Linked DNA regions of Homo sapiens: regions 1 and 2 are each linked to region 3. Evidence: promoter capture Hi-C in human tissues and cell types (Jung and others, 2019). All regions are on one chromosome and are shown on one strand. The core of a region is centred on a gene start or on the middle of the fragment in contact, and the rest is flanking DNA. Distances in the headings are between cores, read along the strand shown. Region 1 overlaps AMZ1 (archaelysin family metallopeptidase 1). Region 2 overlaps GNA12 (G protein subunit alpha 12). Region 3 holds the start of LFNG (LFNG O-fucosylpeptide 3-beta-N-acetylglucosaminyltransferase).

Region 1 (2,700 bases), core at 198-2,697, 200 kb after region 3:
CGCGGGCGCCCACTCACCTGGCACGTGGACGAAGGTGATGAGCGCGGCTGACGGCTCCCGGGGGCAGTGTGGGGTCCAGTCTGAAGCCGACGCCCCTCTCGGTCAGGCTTTCAGCAGCAGAAGGCAGTGGACTCTTCACCATTTCTTCCAACACTTTCTCACGTAGGAGCTCCACTGTCCCTTCTAACAGGACAGGGCTTGTGCAGCCGGGCTTGGTCTTGTGGTCAGGGAGAAGCGGGCAGGCCAGGGCCGAGCTGCGTCCGGCTCTCAGGGACTTCCTCTCCCTGTGCTCTGCCCACCTGGGGTAGGCCTCTGGGAACAGGGGAGTCACAGAAACCACGGGAAACGGAGTGGGTTGGAAGAGGCAGAGAACACGCTTTTCTCAGGGTCGCTTAACACAGGCAGGGGTACAGGAGAGCTCCGGCCATTTATTCCAAATGTATGAGCAGGAAGGAAAGAGGGAGGGAAGCTGCAAGAACAGGCGACTTTTTTTTTTTTTTTTCCCCCCCATCTGAAGTGAGATCAAACTTCTACCACATTCTACCTGTGCCCTTCTGGGTGGGTGGTGGCCGTCCTCTTGGGCGCCCCCTTGTGAGGGCTCGAGGCCTTTACTGGATGGGCAGGATGCGGGCAGCAGCTTTGTCGGCTGCCAACCCAACTCCTCCGACAGAACGGCAGGTGGCCCCTGTCGGAAGGGGGGTGTCTCTTTATTCCTGCCATCCTCCGGCCGCCTCTCCCGCCTGCACCACTTGGAGGCAGTTGTTTCACGTGGGGCTCTTGATGGCATAACCTGATGTCTGTCACGGACCCCCAAGCAGGAGCAATGCCTAAAGAGGGCAAAGGCCCGCGCGCCTGGCAGAGCTCCCTCCTCTGCTCCAACAGCAGAGCCCAGAGCATCCCTTGGCCCGACGCACAAGTCCCACAATAGCCTCTCCCAACGGGAACGACTTAGCCCTAATTACATGAGCTTTGATCACCGCTCGATTGTATGGCACAGTTATTTTTAAAAATCCAGTCCAAGTGGAAATACACCTGGAACATTTTATACTGCAATGACTGATGGACGACTTTGATATACAAAATAAATTGTTACTCAGCTTTTCTATAATGCTTACATCTTACATTTTCATTCTCAAAATTAATAAATGCTATCAACCCCAATTTTTTTTTTTTTTGAGATGGAGTTTCGCTCTTGTTGCCCAGCCTGGAGTGCAATGGTGTGATCTTGGCTCACTGCAACCTCTGCCTTCCAGTTTCAAGCGATTCTCCTGCCTCAGCCTCCCACGTAGATGGGATTACAGGTGCCTGCCACACCATGCCCGGCTAATTTTTGTATTTTTAGTAGAAATGGGGTTTCATCACCTTGGCCAGGCTGGTCTCAAACTCCTGACCTCGTGATCCACCCGCCTTGGCCTCCCAAAGTGCCAGGATTACAGGCGTCAGCCACCGTGCCCAGCCTCAACTCCAAATTTTAAAAAGGGCTTAAACGAAGAGGATGAAATTCTGGAAGGCTAAATGAAAAGAGAATGTGTCTGTTGAATTCGATAAGCAATTCCTTGCATTTGAGAAGGCAAGGAGCCGACGGGAACCTACCGACAGGGCTGCCACGCACTGCTGCAGAGCTTTCCGTGCAAAGCGCGGCTCCCCTCTGAGACTCGGCTCCTCTGCTGACATGGACCGGTTCATCTACCCACGCGGACGCCCATCCACAAACACTTAGTCACTGCTGGAGGCTTTTAAAACACCTGTCAAATGAAGAGTCACTTCACAAATGTTCACTCCCCGTTTCCATGTCTCCCCACGTCAGGGTGAACACTTTTTATGCGCTGTGACAAAAAGAGAAAGACTAGTGTGTGTTTTGGGGGCTGGAGGGGATCATTATTTTTTTGAATTTTTATTTATTGAGACAGAGTCTGTGTTGCCCAGGCTGGAGTCCAGTGGTGCGATCTTGGCTCACTGCAACCTCCGCCTTCTGGGTTCAAACGATTCTCCTGTCTCAGCCTCCCAAGTAGCTGGGACTACAGGCGCCTGCCACCAAGCCTGGCTAATTTTTGTATTTTTTAGTAGAGACGGGGTTTTACCGTGCTGGCCAGGCTGGTCTTGAACTCCTGACCTCAAGTGAAACACCGAAGTCTCCCAAAATGCTGGGATTATAGGTGTGAGCCACTGCGCCCAGCCTTTAAAAAAAAAAAATTATTTTAGATACAGGGGTCTTGCTATGTTGCCCAGGCTTATCTCAAATGCCTGGGCTCAAGCGACTCTCCTGCCTCAGCCTCCTAAGTAGCTGGACTACAGGTGTGTATCTCTACACTGAGCTAACTAAAAACTTGTTTTTGGTAGAGACAGGGTTTCAGCCACGTTGCCCAGGCTGGTTTTGAACTCCTGGGCTCAGGCAATCCTACTGCCTCGGGCTCACGAAGTGCCTGGATTACAGGTGTGAGTCACCACGCCCAGCCCGTTATTTCTGTTTATACGAATGTCACAGCATGTTTCCTGTGTGACCCTGCGGGCTGTCATCGCTGGCTGCCTGCCTTACGCCCACAGGTCTGGTGGTGGCGACCAGCAGCTGCAAAACGACCGACTCTATTGAAGACACACTGGGTGGCGCGGGAGGTTCCTGCCAATGCCGGGAGGAAGAGCAACCCAGGACGCCTGTGCCTGGGAGGGATGGAAAGGCCAGGGGAGGGTGGAGCTCAGGAG
Region 2 (2,700 bases), core at 36-2,535, 220 kb after region 3:
GCTTGGTTCAGTTCCTGCCTGTCAATGTCACAGACTGACAGGGTGTGCATTAAAGACAGCCCATGTGTGGGTCCCACTGGGGAGTGAGAGGAAAAGGTAACCGTGGATTGGTCTCAGATGTAAGCGTCTAAGTAGGGACAGATCAAGGACCAGAGAGTGGTTACAAAGAAAACAAACACCAACTTCCAGCTCCTGGCCAGAGGGCCTTTTAATTTTAAACCCTATCTGCCCATTCAGGAGCTATCTCACAGTTTTGTTTTGTTTTTTTTTTTTTTGTTTTTTTTTTTTTTTTTGAGATGGAGTCTCGCCCTGTCGCCCCGGCTGGAGTGCAGTGGTGTGATCTTGGCTCACTGCAACCTCTGCCTCCTGGGTTCAAGCAATTCTCCTGCCTCAGCCTACAGAGTAGTTGGGACTACAGGCGTGCACTACCACACCCGGCTAACTTTTGTATTTTTAGTAGAGACGGGGTTTCACCAGGTTAACCAGGCTGGTCTCGAACTCCTGACCTCAGGTAATCCACCCACCTCAGCCTCCCAGAGTGCTGGGATTACAGGCGTGAGCCACAGCGCCCGGCCCTGTCTTACAGTTTCTGCACTTAGTGAGGTTAACTCTAAAATCCTAAAGCGGGGTCATTCACACTGTGACCGAAAACAGGGCTTGTTAATGGTGAGCTAGAGGATTCCAAAATCTAGTTCACTCACTTCAACGTGACAAATTACAAAGACAAATTTTAAAACTGCTGTGTATGAAAAGTAACAGCAAACTATGCCAAAGGCCCAGGTTTTCAATTTCATTACTTAATAAATAAATATTAAAGTTAGCATTTGATTTCCACTGAATAGAGACGCTAGCCAAACAACAGAGAATCTTTCAAAATACTTTTAAAAACAGTATCTAGTTCCCCAAAAGAAATCCTCATTTTGAACTCAGGCTTTGCTCAGTGAACGCCTGTGACATCTCACAGGGCTGGCGTGAGATTAAATGATACCACAGCTGTGAAAGTATTCTGGAAAAGAGATACAACACCACATTCATATACATTAGAAAAAGGAAGCTTTTCAAGTTTTAATTTGGGTACCTATGAATTGTTTGTTGCTAATTTATCATCCCCAAATATTAGGTAAGAGGACCAGGCGTGGTGGCTCACAGTAACCTCAGCACGTTGGGAGGCCGAGGCAATCACTTGAGGTCAGGAGTTCGAGACAAGCCTGGCCAACATGGTGAAACCCTGTCTGTACTAAAAATACAAAAACAGAGTGAGGCTCCATCTAAAAAAAAAAAAAAATTAGGTAACAGATTCACTGGCAGAAATACAAAGTGACGCAGGCACAAGCTGTCACTGCAGGAAACGTCTAGTAGGAGAAGCTGCTTGAGGAAACTGTGATCTCCACGCAGTCAGGGGCTACGCACCGGCGAAGGAGAAGAGCTCCGTGGCTGGAAGGAGGTTTCCGATACCCACTGCCAAAGGAAAAGCACAAGGCACGAAACAACGCAGAGTATCTTCCTTTTATGTAAGAAATGGCGGGAGACTAAAACCCATATTCTGCTTGCTTATATTTGGAAAAGGAAACGTGGATACACCAGCAGCAGATAAAAATGACTTCTAGGGAGGGAGGGAATGGGGGATGGGACAGAGACAGGAGTAGCCCTCTCTGAGTATGTCTGACTTTGGAACCATGCTAACATCTTCCATAATTAAAAAAAAATTAAATAAAAAACCAACCCCTCAAAATTGAACCCAAATTAAAGCAAATGAACCCAATAGGACAATAAGGTTAGAGGCGGAACCTAGAATTCTGGCCTCCTCCTGTTTTTTATTTTGTTTGTTTTTTTGTTTTTTGCCAGAATGTGAAAGTACAGAGGAGCTGGCCCCTGACTCTGGCCACGCTTTGGCCCCCTTGCCCTGTGTGTAGCCTCGTGGCTGTGCCTGTGGACACCTCGTCTCCAAGCCTGGCACACAGCCACCCCTTGGTCACAGCAGTGAGACCCCAGGAAGAGCTGCACAGGGTCCTTGGCCGTGGAGCAGCCTCTACAACTGTAAGCTCAGGCTCCGCAGGGTGTGTCCTCGGCGTGTGCAGGGTTGCTGTCACAGGGGTGCCACGCCGGGCCCCTAAAGCACCAGCCCCCTTGCCTGGGTTCTTCCTTTATGTTTTCATTAGGTAAGATCTACATAATAGAAAATTCACCATTTTGACATGAACCATTCAATGGCATTTACTACCTTCAAAATGTTGTACGGCCACCACTTCTACAGCCTATCAGCCGCCACTCCCACTGCCCTGGCCCAGACCCTGACAACACGAATCTGCTTTCTGTCTCCATGGATTTGCCGGTTCTGGATCTCTCATTGGAGCGCATTCACACAGCATGCAGCCCTTTGTGTCTGGTTCTTTTACTTGGTGCGGCATTTCCGAGGCTCGCCCATGCTGTGGCACAGGCCAGTGCAACATTCCATTTTACGGCCAATATATATATATGTATATTACATGCCATTGTATGGATATGTGGTTTGTTTTTCCATTTGTCAGTTGATGAACACTTTGTTTCCAGTTTTTGGCCGTTGTGAACAGTGCTACAAACAGCTGTGTGGAAGTTTTTGCTTGAATATCTGTTTTCATTTCTTGAGTATACACCTAGGAGTGAAACTGTAGCATCCTATGGTAGTTCTTTTTTTATTTTAAAATGGAGTCTCGCCCCGTT
Region 3 (2,700 bases), core at 1-2,500:
ACTATGTCCCAAAACCTGTTCCAGGTCTGAATGACACCAGGTCGCTGCTGTCTTGCGGCTGACATTCAGGTAGAGGTAAGGAGAGGGGCTCCAAGGGCACTTAAAGAATTTAAAATGCCATCTCAGGCGTGAACATAACTCCGAGGGGGGCAGTTTAGCCACGGTGGTGGCGGTGGTGGTCGTGGTGGTCGCAGAGACCCTGCTTAGGAGGGCACGGGAAGACAGCGCAGCCACGGGCAGAGCCGCCTCCGTCCACGCTTCCGGAGGACGTGGCGGGCAGGGGGCTCACACCCTGCTCAGGCGACCCTTGGCCACTTCCGGGCCCCTCGCCCCTCACCCTCGGCTGCCGGCGCGCATTCCTGCCGCCCCCGCTCGTGCGAGGGGCGGGCCCGGGCCCGTGGGAAGGGCCGGGGATGGGGGCCGTGTGCCGGGGAGGCGGGGTGGGGAGGGCGCACAGCTGGGCCGCATCTGGCCCGAGCGCAAGGAGACCAAATGGGACAGAAGGCGGCCTTTCATCCGGCGAGGGAAGTGGCGGCCTTCGTTTCTCCTCGCCATGGGGCGCCTGAGGATTTCGGGGAGCCAACCCTCCCGACGGAGGGCCAGGATCGAGGAAATCAGCCAGGGAGGAAGGAGTGGAATTTGGTTCTGGTGCTTTCTCGTTAGAACCTCGTGTCCCCACCTGCGGCACAGGTGGCCAAGCTCTTGCTCTGTACAAATAACGGCTCCCCTGAACCGAGCGCTCGGGAAGACCCAGGCGCCACCCCAGTTTGCAAGGCCTGCCGCGTCCCAAGGGGAGGAAGCCGTGCTCAGGAGGGGAAGCGCACAGCGAGGAAGTAGGATGTCCCCCGCGGTGCGTCGGAGCCCAGAGCCCGGGTCTCAGCACCCTGCCCGCTGCGCCGAGGGCGCGCCCCTCCCGTGCCGGGACGCCCGGTGCATCCCCGGACGGCGCTGGCCAGGCTGGGTTTCCTCTTCAGGGACACCGGCGCGGGCCGGGCCCGTCCCCAAGCCCCTCGGCGGCCCGCAGGGGCTACCCGGGGCGGGGGGGGTGCGGGGCGTGCACGTGCGCGCCGGGGGCGGGGCCGCTGCGCCCTCTGGGCAGTTCCCAGCCCCCAGCCGCGGCCCCACGTGGGTCTGCGGGCGTGGAGCGGCGACCGGCGCGAGGCCCCGCCCCCGAGCCCGGGAGCCAATGAGCGCACGGGGGCGGGACCGGGGCGGGGAGGTTTAAGAGCGCGGGACACTGGTGCTGCGCTGCTGGACTGCGCCGCCGGAGCGACGGGCTTCGGGTCGGTGCAAGGCAGGCGCACGGGGAAGGGCGCGCCGCGCGGCCGCCACCCCACCATGCTCAAGCGCTGCGGCCGGCGCCTGCTGCTGGCGCTGGCGGGCGCGCTGCTCGCCTGCCTGCTGGTGCTCACCGCCGACCCGCCGCCGCCTCCACTGCCCGCCGAGCGCGGCCGGCGCGCGCTGCGCAGCCTGGCGGGCCCCGCGGGGGCTGCCCCGGCGCCCGGGCTGGGGGCGGCGGCGGCGGCGCCCGGGGCGCTGGTCCGCGACGTGCACAGTCTGTCCGAGTACTTCAGCCTGCTCACCCGCGCGCGCAGAGATGCGGGCCCGCCGCCCGGGGCTGCCCCCCGCCCCGCCGACGGCCACCCGCGCCCCCTGGCCGAGCCGCTCGCGCCCCGAGACGTCTTCATCGCTGTCAAGACCACCAAAAAGTTCCACCGCGCGCGCCTCGACCTGCTGCTGGAGACCTGGATCTCGCGCCACAAGGAGATGGTGAGCCCCCCGCGGCCTGGACTGGCGGGCGAGCGGGGCGGGGACCCACCATCTGGTCCAGCTGGTGGCAGTGTCCCATGGGAGTCAGGCTGCATCCCCATCCAGCCACTAGGGCCATCTGTGGGCGACGCCAGTGCACCCCGGTGCACCCAGTTTGCCTGCTGGGGCCACTCTCCCGTTACAGTTGTGTTACTGTCCCCGGGGCCCCGCCTCCTGTCCAGCTCCAGAGTCCTGGATGGCTGCAGGACCCTACACCAGTCTCCAGTGCTTGGGGTTGGTGCCCTGTGATACTTCTCACCCCGTAAACATTGGAGCGCATTCATAGGGCATTATGTCCTCAAACTTCCACAAGCAAATTCTGTTCGGACCCACCCTCAGCTCAGACCCCTTCCTGGGGAGAAAGGCTCTTCCTTTAGAGAAGTGAGGGGTTCTGACCTCTGGGCCCTTTCCTCATCACAGTGTTAAGGTACGGGGAGGGAGGGAAGTCATTGCTGGTTGGTGGGTCCTGGGGAGTACATCTCAAAGAACTCCAGGTTTTGGGGTCTGTGTGGGGACCCTCCCCGCACAGTGCAGTAGTCTCTGAGGCCTGCAACCTTGGGCACAGCCCACTTCAGTTGGGCATCAGCTTCTTACACACACATAATTAAGACACACCCCACTTTGAACATTTCCCTCGAGGCCACAGCAGGACGGTTGGGCTGGGGCGGGATGGGGACAGTGTGTGGGGCTTGCAGTCGGGGACTGGGGGGGTGTCTCTGGGCTGGGAGATGCAGAGGCATTTGCTGTGAGGGTGGGGGCTCAGGGAAGACCCTGCACGCCTTCCTCCCTGCTCAAACCCCGGAGACCCAGGGCCTTCTGACCTGGCGCTGTCCTGTTTTGGGGCACTGTGGGTGGGTGGGAGCAGGGCTTGGTGAGGTCATGAGGGCGACG

What was found. The method cuts DNA at HindIII sites, captures the fragments that hold promoters and counts their contacts. A contact is called where the count stands out against the background at its distance.
Region 1: a fragment that was not itself captured here is called in contact with the fragment with the promoter of LFNG in region 3 in 2 of the 25 tissues and cell types used here (IMR-90 fibroblasts and spleen).
Region 2: a fragment that was not itself captured here is called in contact with the fragment with the promoter of LFNG in region 3 in 1 of the 25 tissues and cell types used here (dorsolateral prefrontal cortex).

What each region holds. Positions count from the first base shown.
Region 1 is chr7:2,718,523-2,721,222 of GRCh38, forward strand. It overlaps AMZ1 (archaelysin family metallopeptidase 1), which reads left to right. Exons shown (of 7, transcript NM_001384743.1): 7 at 1-1,161. Among named protein-coding and RNA genes, the nearest start is that of AMZ1, 32 kb to the left of the region's middle. The HindIII fragment of the contact is 7,405 bases long and covers 1-2,700 here.
Region 2 is chr7:2,737,014-2,739,713 of GRCh38, forward strand. The region is part of intron 2 of GNA12 (G protein subunit alpha 12); the gene reads right to left. It also overlaps a transcript of AMZ1 not described here. Among named protein-coding and RNA genes, the nearest start is that of AMZ1, 50 kb to the left of the region's middle. The HindIII fragment of the contact is 6,430 bases long and covers 1-2,700 here.
Region 3 is chr7:2,518,524-2,521,223 of GRCh38, forward strand. It overlaps LFNG (LFNG O-fucosylpeptide 3-beta-N-acetylglucosaminyltransferase), which reads left to right and starts at 1,251. Exons shown (of 8, transcript NM_001040167.2): 1 at 1,251-1,770. The coding sequence starts at 1,339. RefSeq lists silencers at 777-1,306, 1,317-1,426. The HindIII fragment of the contact is 23,923 bases long and covers 1-2,700 here.